4 separate regions of the Homo sapiens genome follow, and all the other regions are linked to region 4. The links are contacts of gene promoters, found by promoter capture Hi-C in human tissues and cell types (Jung and others, 2019). All regions are on one chromosome and are shown on one strand. The core of a region is centred on a gene start or on the middle of the fragment in contact, and the rest is flanking DNA. Distances in the headings are between cores, read along the strand shown. Region 1 overlaps GRM8 (glutamate metabotropic receptor 8). Region 2 overlaps GRM8 (glutamate metabotropic receptor 8). Region 3 has its middle 15 kb from the start of ZNF800. Region 4 holds the start of GRM8 (glutamate metabotropic receptor 8).

The links. The method cuts DNA at HindIII sites, captures the fragments that hold promoters and counts their contacts. A contact is called where the count stands out against the background at its distance.
Region 1: a contact is called between a fragment that was not itself captured here and the fragment with the promoter of GRM8 in region 4, in 1 of the 25 tissues and cell types used here (dorsolateral prefrontal cortex).
Region 2: a contact is called between a fragment that was not itself captured here and the fragment with the promoter of GRM8 in region 4, in 1 of the 25 tissues and cell types used here (bladder).
Region 3: a fragment that was not itself captured here is called in contact with the fragment with the promoter of GRM8 in region 4 in 1 of the 25 tissues and cell types used here (adrenal gland).

The regions. Positions count from the first base shown.
Region 1 is chr7:127,089,666-127,092,427 of GRCh38, forward strand. The region is part of intron 3 of GRM8 (glutamate metabotropic receptor 8); the gene reads right to left. Among named protein-coding and RNA genes, the nearest start is that of MIR592, 33 kb to the left of the region's middle. The HindIII fragment of the contact is 3,292 bases long and covers 1-2,762 here.
Region 2 is chr7:127,106,738-127,109,524 of GRCh38, forward strand. All of the region lies in intron 2 of GRM8 (glutamate metabotropic receptor 8), which reads right to left. Among named protein-coding and RNA genes, the nearest start is that of MIR592, 50 kb to the left of the region's middle. The HindIII fragment of the contact is 5,062 bases long and covers 1-2,787 here.
Region 3 is chr7:127,406,046-127,408,843 of GRCh38, forward strand. No RefSeq gene overlaps it. Among named protein-coding and RNA genes, the nearest start is that of ZNF800, 15 kb to the left of the region's middle. The HindIII fragment of the contact is 8,913 bases long and covers 1-2,798 here.
Region 4 is chr7:127,251,519-127,254,274 of GRCh38, forward strand. It overlaps GRM8 (glutamate metabotropic receptor 8), which reads right to left and starts at 1,423. Exons shown (of 11, transcript NM_000845.3): 1 at 1,279-1,423. RefSeq lists an enhancer at 2,261-2,510 and a silencer at 2,631-2,690. The HindIII fragment of the contact is 12,389 bases long and covers 1-2,756 here.

The DNA.
Region 1 (2,762 bases), core at 132-2,631, 160 kb before region 4:
AATTGCCTCATAGGCTTACATTTAAGTCCTGTCTGAGACAGTAAAACAAATGCTTTCTTTACTAAAGGTACACACACAGTGTTGCAATCACAGAATAGAGCTCATCTAACACTACTTAAGGGAACCCAGGAAGCCTTCACTAAGGAAGTATCATTGATGCTGAGTCTTGAGTGGAATTTTGCCAGGAAATAATTCATCTGATGTCCCATCTCTGCATCATTCTCTGTGGGATTCTTTCTGGGGAGCCACATAGTCATTCTGCACATGCCCATCCCAATCTAAGGGCTCCAGGACACAAACTGCGGTTGGCCAAGATGTCTTAAATGAGTTTTGTTTCAATGGCATAGATCCCCACAGCATCAAGTGATTCCCATCCTCCATGCCTGGGACCTTGTGACCACTTGTGCCAATACCAACTTGCTTCTGGCCCTCATTCCCACTCCAGTCCAAGCCAATCCCAGCTCTTGCCTGGAGACACACAATAGATTTCTAACTAATCTTCTGCTTCCATCTTGACCCTGCAATCCAGTTTCTGCACACGTACCTCAACTGTACCATATCTCTCCAAATCAAATCCCTTCAAAGGCTTTTACCAGATCTGTAAATTCCCAGCACCTAACAAGTTCTTGGAACTTCATTTGGGTACCAATTATGTGTTAAATGAATGGTGAATAAGCAAGTTCATCAGGGCCTGGAGTCATGACTCAATAGCAGAAGCTTTAGACCTTAGGACATCTTGCAGTCATGACTCACATCTCATGTTACATACCTGGAACATTCCAAACCAATTGAAAGAGGAATAATATATTCATCAGATTTATCTACTTCTGATTTTGCATCCACTCTATTTGTCTGACATAGCAGATCTCTGGTTCTTAATCTAAGAATGGTAGATCTACTATCTGGTTCTGGTTTTCAGATTCAAGTTTAGCAACCTGGGTGTCAATCCTGCTATCATGTACTTAAGCTACTGCTTCTGTTTCCCAACTGAAACCTGTCCCTAATTCTGATTCCCGGCTCTCCTTCCTTCCCATGTGCCCTCCGGTTGCGGCACTGGCATGCCCCAGAACCCAGATCCCATGTCTCTCAACTGTTGCTAAACAGAATGAGATGCTGAGCCCTGACCCTAGGGCAGGGTCCCATCCTCTGCTACAGAACAATTTTTATGTGGACTGTTAGCCACGCCATCTGACTTTCTCCAAGCTACCTACTTCCTGATGTCCTGTCTCCAGCATGCACTCACCTGCCATGTCCATCTATTCCTTCATTCAACAAGCACTCTCAGATTATCTTCTAGACAGTGCAGCTACAGTGCTAATGAAAGATGTCTGTGGTATGCTTTCCACCTCTGAAGAAAAAGAAGGGAATAATTTAAAAAGTGGTAAGATGTCTGCATGGGACCTCAGAAACTGACCAAGTGTTCACAGTGGTTCACCTCTTACCCTCTTACTTTGCCTTGACAGAACTTTAGTCAGGATTCTCTCCTTCCTACAGGTCCCTGAATTCTACTTGGCCCCAAGCCTGAGAAAGCACTAAACACTGGAATGTGGCCCCCTTATTAGCTTGCACTGAGAATCAGCTGACCACAGCAGGACAATTCCTGTCATACCCCACTGATCATCCTCCCCATCCCACTGGCCATCCCCCAGTTCCACTGATCATCCCCCTGTCCCACTGATCATTCCCCTCAACCATCCCACTGATCATCCTCCCATCCCACTGGTCATCCCCCCACCACCATCCCCGTCTCACTGATGACTGGTCATCCCCCCACCACCATCCCACTGGTCATCCCCCCCACCACCATCCCCGTCTCACTGATGACTAGTCATCCCCCCACCACCATCCCACTGGTCATCCCCCCCACCACCATCCCACTGGTCATCCCCATCCCACTCATCATCCACCCCATCCCACTCGTCATCCCCCCATCCCACTCGTCATGCTCCCCTGTCCCACTCATCATCCCCCGTCCCACTTATGACCCACCCCACCATCCCACTGATCATCCTCCCATCCCACTGATCCTCTGATGACCCCCCTGCCATCCCACTGATCATCCCCTCCTCCCACTGGTCATCCCTCCCGTCCCACTGATCATCCCTCCGCCGTCCCACTGATGACTCCCCACCCCCGCGGTCCCACTGGTCATCCCGCCGTCTGGCTGGCGACCCCCCGGCCGTCCCGCCAATGACCCCCCCGCCGGCCCACTCATCATTCCCCGCCGGCCCACTGATGACTCCCCCTCCAACCCACTGATCATCCCCGCCATCCCACTGGTCATCCCCCCATCCCACTGACCATCCCCCATCCCACTGATCATTCCCCGTCCCACTGATGACCCCCCCCACCATCCCACTAGTCATCCCCCCGTCCCACTGGTCATCACCTCGCCCCACTGGTCATCACCCCATCCCACTGGTCATTCCCCCGTTCCACTGGTCATCCCTCCATTGCTTAATCCCTTTTACAATTTTAATTAAGCTTTTGCTTATCTCTCCCTACCCTATATAATGGAAGCCTCTTTCTTTTTGATTTTGTGACACTTGACAATTTCTGAGGTTGGAGCATTCTCTCTGTGGCAATGGTCTTTCTTTTGAATAAAATCCCTCCTTATCTAAGTCTGGATTTGTTTTCATTTGACAGAATACATAGAAGAGAAATCTAACTTGGGTGGGAAGAGGAGGGGATGAAGATTAGAGAAGGCTTCCTGGAAATAAACTGTGAACAGAAAGAAAATAAAACATTGGCTGGGCACGGTG
Region 2 (2,787 bases), core at 263-2,762, 140 kb before region 4:
CAACCCATGACGAATCTTGAAGAATGATGGATTGTCATATGAGCTAAACAGCCAAGGCTATACCAGAAACCTAGACATATCAACCTGAAGCCAAAATACAGTTTTATGACTACCAATTTAATTGGAAAGTATTTTTGAATGGCCCATAGGCTTACTTTCTCTCAATGCACAATATTTCTAAACAGTGAGAAAGAATTTCATTTTGCTTTAGTTTCCATTGTTTCTGGAGCCAAAGCAAAACATTTGTGCTTTTTGTTGATGTTGCTTTTTGTTGATGTTGCTTTTTTAGTCTGTACATGATAAGCTCTGGTGCAGAAAGGAGAGAAAAATGAAGGCATATACATCAGAAAAGGTCACCTCTGAAACTGGCTTTGGCTTTATAGGACATAAATGCTATACAATGACTAACAGGGAATTTAATATAAGATTTTTTTATACTTGATACCATTTCAGTCTTAAGACTATATTTTTAGTAAATTATTGTAAATATATAGTTTTGCAAGTCTATTGACTGTTTATTGATATAATCAGAGTGCCACAAAAAGATTTGAGAATTGCCAGCAGCCACATATCCTCTCATAGAAACATCATTCTAACCCCCTTCAAAACATCACAGAAAAGGGAATCCAGACCATAAATTCTTTAGAAGAGACTATTTTTCTTTTAATGGGGTGAATTGCCAGAAATTCTTTGAAATGAGGAATCCTATGTCATTTCTCAATAATGTGGGAGAGTGAGCTATGTGATTGTGTATAGTAACTCCTCTGCTGCCATGCTGTGGTATGAGTGAAAGTTCAGAGATCAAAGTGACTCCAAGATGCCCTAATTCAGGTAACTTGAAGATGCAGGTTTGACTTGTACATGAAAAAATTAACTTTATGCTACATCACATGTTGCAGCTAATGTCAGTGCTCAAAGAGGATGTCGGAGTTGCAGTTCCATCTTTCCCCACAGGGCTGCACACTCTGGGATCCAATAGTCCCCACTACAGTGTAGACAGATGATTCCCAATCTATATAAACATTTCAACTCCACCCTTGACATACTTGTAAAGCTCTCAACATCTAAATAACCTTCCTAAGTCTAGAGAGTCCTGTTCCCTACTAGTGGCCAGTGAAATGACAGTGAAGTTCCTAAAACGTAAAAGTCATCCCGGGAGCAGCAGCAGAGCAATGTGCTTGGAGCTGTCCATGGTGCTGACTATTCATTCAGCTTCCATGTAACTTGGATCCACCTGCATTGGCCGTAACAGAGAGTACCCAGAATAGCGTGGCCCATTTAACCCCAAATTCTTTCTGGTTCTGTTCTCCTAGTGGGGACTGTGTTAACTTATTTGTTAACACTGTGGGACCATGAAAACCATCTGACCCACCTCCTCCTGCCCTTTGCCTTCTCTGCCAGATATACTGACCTTACCTTGACAAATTTTTCCCCTGGTTAGATTTTGTGACTGCATAGTACATGACTACTCGCAAGGACACCCCTCCAAATCTCAAACCACACACCAAATCTTGCCCTTTCTCACCTTTTCTTGTTTGTTTTCAGAGGACCTGGGAAGGAAACCATGGATAACTTAGTGAGATCTACCTCTTACTAGGTAAAAATTTCCCAAATATCAAAAGTATGTGCATTCCTATATCCTAACGAAAATAAGTCAGCCATCTGACTTTCACTTTAGAAGAAATTATATGTATGTGCGAGTAGGGGTTGTGTGGGGGGAAGGGAATAGGGGAGCATTCTATAGCAAAATATATAGCCCTACACCATTTCTTTGTCCTATTTGGATACCGATACTCCCACTTCCTGAGCTACTAAGAGTCCAGCAGTAAAATGACTTACACAACTCCCACCCTGCCTATAATAATGAGCCACCCTTTCTAAAAATGAGCAGAAAGTGTGAAAATTGAGTGTTTGAAACCAAAACTAATTATCTCAAATTACTACCTTCAGTCAGTCACTTCCAGGCTGTTTAATTAGCAGTCAGCCTCATGTTTAGGATTAATTAAACAGGTGTAAAGGGTATATAAAATAAAAGTGCAGATAGAAGATGGTTGTTTGATTAATTCAGTAATGGACTTTCTCCCCAAAGTCTTGAAGAGTTTTCTCTTTGCAGATCAATGTGTGGGAAAGCAATGCAAGAGTATGCATTTGTATTTTTATTTTTTCACTCTACAATAATACACATCAGGGTATATGAATAGTATTTCAAGACAAGTTTTCAAGTTTTCATGAAGTCACATCTCATTTTTATTTTATTGTGGTAGACCCCTAAGCATTGGTTCATTAAGCATTTTAATTTCTGTCCCAGCATCCCCAGTATTTCTACCACCCGCAAATTAAACCCTACTGGCAACTGAAGTAAAAATTTTTTAAAGACCTGGAATGTTCCTTTTATTTTCCCTACATCAAATTCACTGCAACTACCCACTTAACCTTGGAGGTTTCATCTACCAGAAACACAGCAATGGAAAAAAAGGTGGTGAATGGTGAAGAGAAGCGGAGGAAAAAAATGAAAGGAAAAAGAAGAAAAGCATCCCAAGAAAAGAAGTTGCTAGGAAAAGCACCCATTATCAGTTCCCCCATCCTTTAAAAAAAAAAGTAGTGTCTTTTATAAGCCTCTGTTAACTCCCATGGCCAATGTAAAGGATAAAATACAAACTCTTCGGTCTGGTTCACAAAGATCATCAGATTCTGTCTCATCTTCCTCCCCTGACCTGTACCTTCTCTCCATATTCTCACAGCATCTGCACCCTTCTCCATACCAGGGAGATTTAATGCTCTCCTCTA
Region 3 (2,798 bases), core at 164-2,663, 150 kb after region 4:
CTTACTTAGGGAAATATGATCCAAAACAAAGCAAAAGCATTAACCAGCTTTATGTTAACCTTCATATGTTCCCTGAGCATGGAGATAAAAGGAGTTACATAGTCTCCCCAGTAGTTTTTTATGTGACCTAGGAAAGAATCACTTTCTCCAATCTTTCTTTAGCTTTACTTACACAGGAGGTTGTTGCAGATTCATAGAAATTGTCACTAGGCACCCAGAAGAAAATGTCTGAGACACACATGGCTATCTACAAACCCAGTATTTTGGCAAGGATCATGGTTGCTGCAAATAAAGCACACCTAACATACTGAGATCTGTCCGAACACCACACTTTAAAAGAGATATAAACAAATGGATACACATTCACACTGGTAGAGGACCTGGAGAGGGAGACTTGAAACCATGCCCTGCATGGAATGTTCGCATGAAGTGGGGAGATTTTGCCTGGCCAGCAAAGTCTTCAACTCCATATGAGAGTGTTGTATGGAAAAGGAATGTGTTCCATATAGTCATCCTTGCTGGGGTGTGAAAAGCACAGGAATGCTAATTCCAGTGCAACAGAATAAAGAATTTTCTGACCAAGCTGTCCTATAATTGAATGTATTGCCTCAGGAGGTGTTAAGTTTCCCACCACTAGGAAATGTTCAAACTTTGGCCAGGACATTAGTACAGGTATGGTGAAAGGGATTCAAACACTTGATGGGAACTTGGAGTAAAAAGGGTGGCTTTAAAGTTAATTCCGACCCTGACAGTTTGCAAAAATGAAAGGGATAAGACTGGTAATTGAACCAAACCTTCATGCCTCTGAATTCATATATGTAGAAATATAACAAATCTGAATAAACTTTTCTCACATGAACCATGCAATAAGAAGTCAGACTTACTGTTTTGATCTTCCTAATTCAAAGTTAGAATATACTTTGTACTGAGGTTTCTTTCATTAACTGAGACACAAGCCAGCAACTTGACCTATTAACACCAACACTGAGATCAAGCATTGCTAGTTTATCCTCTATAAATATCAAGTACAATTCAATTGGTTGAGCACCTACTATATGCCAATCATCGTACTAAAGTTTGGGGGATATAATGGTGAACAACAACAAAAAAACGTGATCTCCATCTTCATGGCATTTATAGTCTAGTATAATTGCTGTCTCCTACAGATGATATGAAGTCTACTGTTTTTAGGTTTTCAGTAATTTACTTTCCGATTAAAAATAATCAGTTTTTCAAAATAATTTTTAAAAGAAAAAAGCATTTTCCTTCTATTAAACACTCAGCAGAAAATTCATGATTATCCACCCAGACGTGTCCAATTTACATAATTTGAGAAACTCTACTTCTACCAAAAATACCTTACTGCTTATACTCATGGAGTTAGTACAAATATGCATAATATGTAAGAATCTGTTTTGCTATGACTCATTTATATAGACTACATCATTTGCCTAAAATATGATTTCATTAAGAGAATACAATTACTTGTATAATCAAAAGTCACTGATGAAAGTTAATCAGCTGGCTTTTTGCAGTCTTCATATAGGTAATACATGACTAGGTCAGGATTTGAAACATTTGAGGTTATTTTATCTAGTTCTTACATATACTGATAGTTTAATTTGCTACAAAACTAAATTTGCAGTTGAGCAAGAAATCTGCAAGTAGGATTAGGTTAGGAGCTAGGAAAAAAAACTTTCAAGGTTAAATTAGATAATCTAGTTGACTAACATTATCAATAATAATATACTGAAGAGTCCATAGGGATAGTCCATGAAGCCTTAAGTTTCTGCCATATACACAGTTACATTCTAAGGAGATGAATTCCTGTATTCTTGCCAGGGCTTATCCAGAATCATTTGCAGGTAAAATGATTCCTTCTACCTAACAGTAGTTGATTAGACCAGTTATAATTTAATCGGTCACAGGCAATCATACAGTCTAACACATGCTAGGTACTCAATGAAAAAAAATATGTATATATATGTGTATATATATATATATATATATATATATATATATATATATATATATATATATACTCTAGAGACAGGGACTTGCTCTGCCACCCAGAGGCTAGAGTGCAGTGGCACAATCATGGCAGCCTTGACTTCCTATATTCAAGCAATCCTCCCACCTCAGCCTCCTGAGTACCTGGGACTACAGGCATGCTCCACCACACCCACTAATTTATTTTTTCTTTTGTAGGGACAGGTCTCATTATGTTGCCCAGACTGAACAAGCAGTCCTCCCGCCTTGGCCTCCCAAAGTGCTGGGATTACAGGTGTGAGCCACTGTGCCCAGCCTCAATGAACATTTTTGAATGAAGGCACAAATGGACAGAAGTGGAAGTAAACTCAGAAATGGCATAACAGGGACTAAGGAGAAAAATAACTCACTCATTCACTCATTTAATAAATATTGACTGATTTCTATACATAGATTAGGCACTATGTGTCAGATACTGTTCTAGGGTATGTATGGGTAAACAAAACCAGACATGATTACACTGGCCCTCAAGGAGTTTACAGTCTAATTGAAGAGACAGATATTAATCCAAAATCACCAAATATAATATGCATACTATGATCGTGGTGTGGTAAGAGATATGGTGCTAGAAGAGGGTATAACAGAGAGATTTGACCCTGCCAGGGAGGTAAGGGAAGCCTTGCTTAAGGAAATAAGGAATTGCCCAATTAAAGTGTAGTAGAAAGAATGTTTTAGGCAGAGGGTCTGGCAAGTTCAAAAGTCTTCATGAAAGAATGAGAGCTAGTGTGACTGCTGCACGGTGGGCATGG
Region 4 (2,756 bases), core at 173-2,672:
TCCCAGCGCAGGTTCCTTTTTCTTCTCAGTTCCTTGGGCTGTTGAAGCCGGGTTCTGGGTAGATAGAGACTGGGGCCGTGGGGAGAGCGCCAGGCTGCTTTTGCCTTTCCCGCGCCCCGGGGCATTCCGGCGCGCTGGGGATGCAGCCTCCGCCCCCGCCGCACCTGGCCGCCCGAGCGCCCGCGCCCACGCCCCGCGCGGGGCCGCCCGAAACTGGGGCCGCGCCAGCCGCGGGAGCTACCGAGGAGCTGTTGGGGTGCGTTTGCCTTTGCTTTTTAAACAAGATCCCCGAGACCTTTTCTCCATCCCCCCAACCCCCAGCAGGACACGGAACTCCGGCGTTTCTCGAAAGCCACAAAAGAGGGGCACGGAAATCCCAAGCTCGCCGTGCTAACTCGGAGAACGCAAACTCGAGGCAGAGCGTGCGCCGTGCGGGGATGTGGGTGTCGAGGACCCCGAAGCGCCCGGCTTCCCCCGCGACCCCCATCCTCCCTAGATCCTGGTTAGACATCCATCCAGCCCACGCTCAGAGGGCGGGGGTTACCCCGACTCATCCCGGAAGCCGCTAACTTCAGAAATCCCTCCTGTTAGGTTCGCGAAACGAAGGTACCTCGTCATCTCGGCGGGGCAAGTCCGGATTCCACCAGGGCAGGTCCGGGAGGTCACCCAGGGCAGACGATCCGAGGCAGAGCGCTTTAAAATCCTGCCGCCGCACGCCCAGTCAGAGCGCCGAGCGCGCCTGCCCCCTTCCCGTCACCCTTCAGTCTCCCATTCGCCGACTAAACTTTTGGGGGATCACATCTCCAAGCCTTGGGAGTTCCGGGTAAAGTCTCCCTCTTTTCTGAACCTCTTTACTGTAATGTAATCATGGGCAGACAAGAGGGGTGGCTGCCTTGTTCTTTGCAACGTAAAATCAACAGACACCCAATCAAGCTCCAATGCCCGGCCAGCCCCTCGCCCCCTGGTGCCCACTCTCCTTCTCCCCCCATTCCCGTCACCTCCGCCCGCTATTTCTCTCACAGACTACGGACATGCAGGGCCATCTACTTGTGCTCAGGAAAAACAAATCACTAGAGTGATATGAGAAGGAATGGTGCACCTGGCTGTCCGCTGAAAGGTTTTAGAGAAGAAAACGGAAAGGGGAATAAAACGGGGGGATTCTCCTTTTCCAACAAGCAGGGCGTTTTGGGGAAGTTTGGGGGCCAGGGGCTTTTTGTCCCGTGGTTCGGCACTTGCTTTCCTCGGAGCCGCTTTCTGCTGCCGGGCGGCGAGTCTTACCCTGCTCCCCGCAGAGGGCGCGGTGAGGAAGCCCGCCGGGGGCCCGCAGCTCCATGTCAGCGCCGCCGCCGCCGCCGCCGCCGCCGCGTGAGGCGAGCACAGCGGCCGCACTTGTGGCTGATCTCTGGGCTGAGGGGGCTGAGCTGGCCTAGCAGGCGCCAAGTCTCTTCCATGTGAATAACAAATACTCCCACCGGCGGCCGCGATTGGTCTGCGCCCGGCGCCTCCCGATCCTCCGCCCGCGGCCATTCACCCGGCGCGGCGCGGGGAGCCGCGGCCAGGATCGCGCCCGGGATCGCCAATCGCTTCGCGCCAACCAGTCACCTCGGGAAGCGGGAGGAGGAACCCCCGAGGGGCGGGAGCCTCTGGATTTCGGTGTCACCCAGCGGCCCTGGCGCGGGCAGGGAGGGGGACCCTCGGCCCGCGGATCCCCCTCCGCTCTTCAGCCTGAAGCGACGAGGAGACCAGAAATGTCAATAGTTCTGATTTTTAAAAATCATCCCCCCTTCCCCGCCCCCAAGAAAAAGGGGAGGACCCAACTACAGAGTGAGAGGGTGGGAAGAAGCGGGAGCGGTAGAAGAAGGAATATGGTTGTGGAGGAGCCCAGCGGCTCCGGCTGCCTGGCGAGCCCGGGACCGGCGCGGGGAGGCGCGACGCCCGCCCGAGCACAGCGGGCAGCACCCGCGAGCCCGGGTCCCCGGTGAACACAGCTCCAGAAAGCGTCACCGAGAATAACACATGGTAGATGACAAGTGTCCCGCCACATGCTTTCTTTTCGGGAATGCTTAAAGTAGAGCCGGCAAGCCGCGCGGTTCCCTTGCAAAGTTTGCCTGGCGCCGCGCGGCGGTTCCGCCATTTGTCCCGCCCCGCGGCTCTGGCGATTGTCTCCCCACTCCCCGCCCCCGAGGGTCTGAGGGACGCGTGCAACAGAGTCCCCAGGGCTCGAGGTACCACACAGCGCGGTCCGCTGCGGGCACTGCGCAGGAAGGGGCATGGGTGGCTACCGGGACGGTCATTTTATTGAGATGATTCAAGGAGCCGCAGACGCGGGGCAGGAAACTCCGGGGGAGCCGTGCTCGGGTTCTGCAGGGAAACCTCGGGATTCCCTTCGCATGCCGCATGCGGAAACCTGCCGGGCTCGACGTGCACAGTCCAGCGCTCCTCCCCACTAGTTACTGCCCAGGCCCCCCGATCCTGCACCCGCCGGAATGAGAGAAAGTAGCCCCTCGCCGCCCAGCTCCCGGGTAGCTGCTCCGGCCGGGCCTTGCGTTGGTGAGAAAGTTCCATCTAGAGGCGGCCGCGCGCAACTGCAGGCGGCGCCCTAGGCCCGGGCGAGCCAGGGAGAGCGGGGCGCGGGGGGAGAGGGGGCAGCCCAGGAGATAAGGAGGATGGAGAAGGACGGGAGAGACCCCGAAAAGGCAAGCTCTAGACCCCCGTTCGGCATCTCTACAATGAATTTTATCTTCCTAAGCATCATG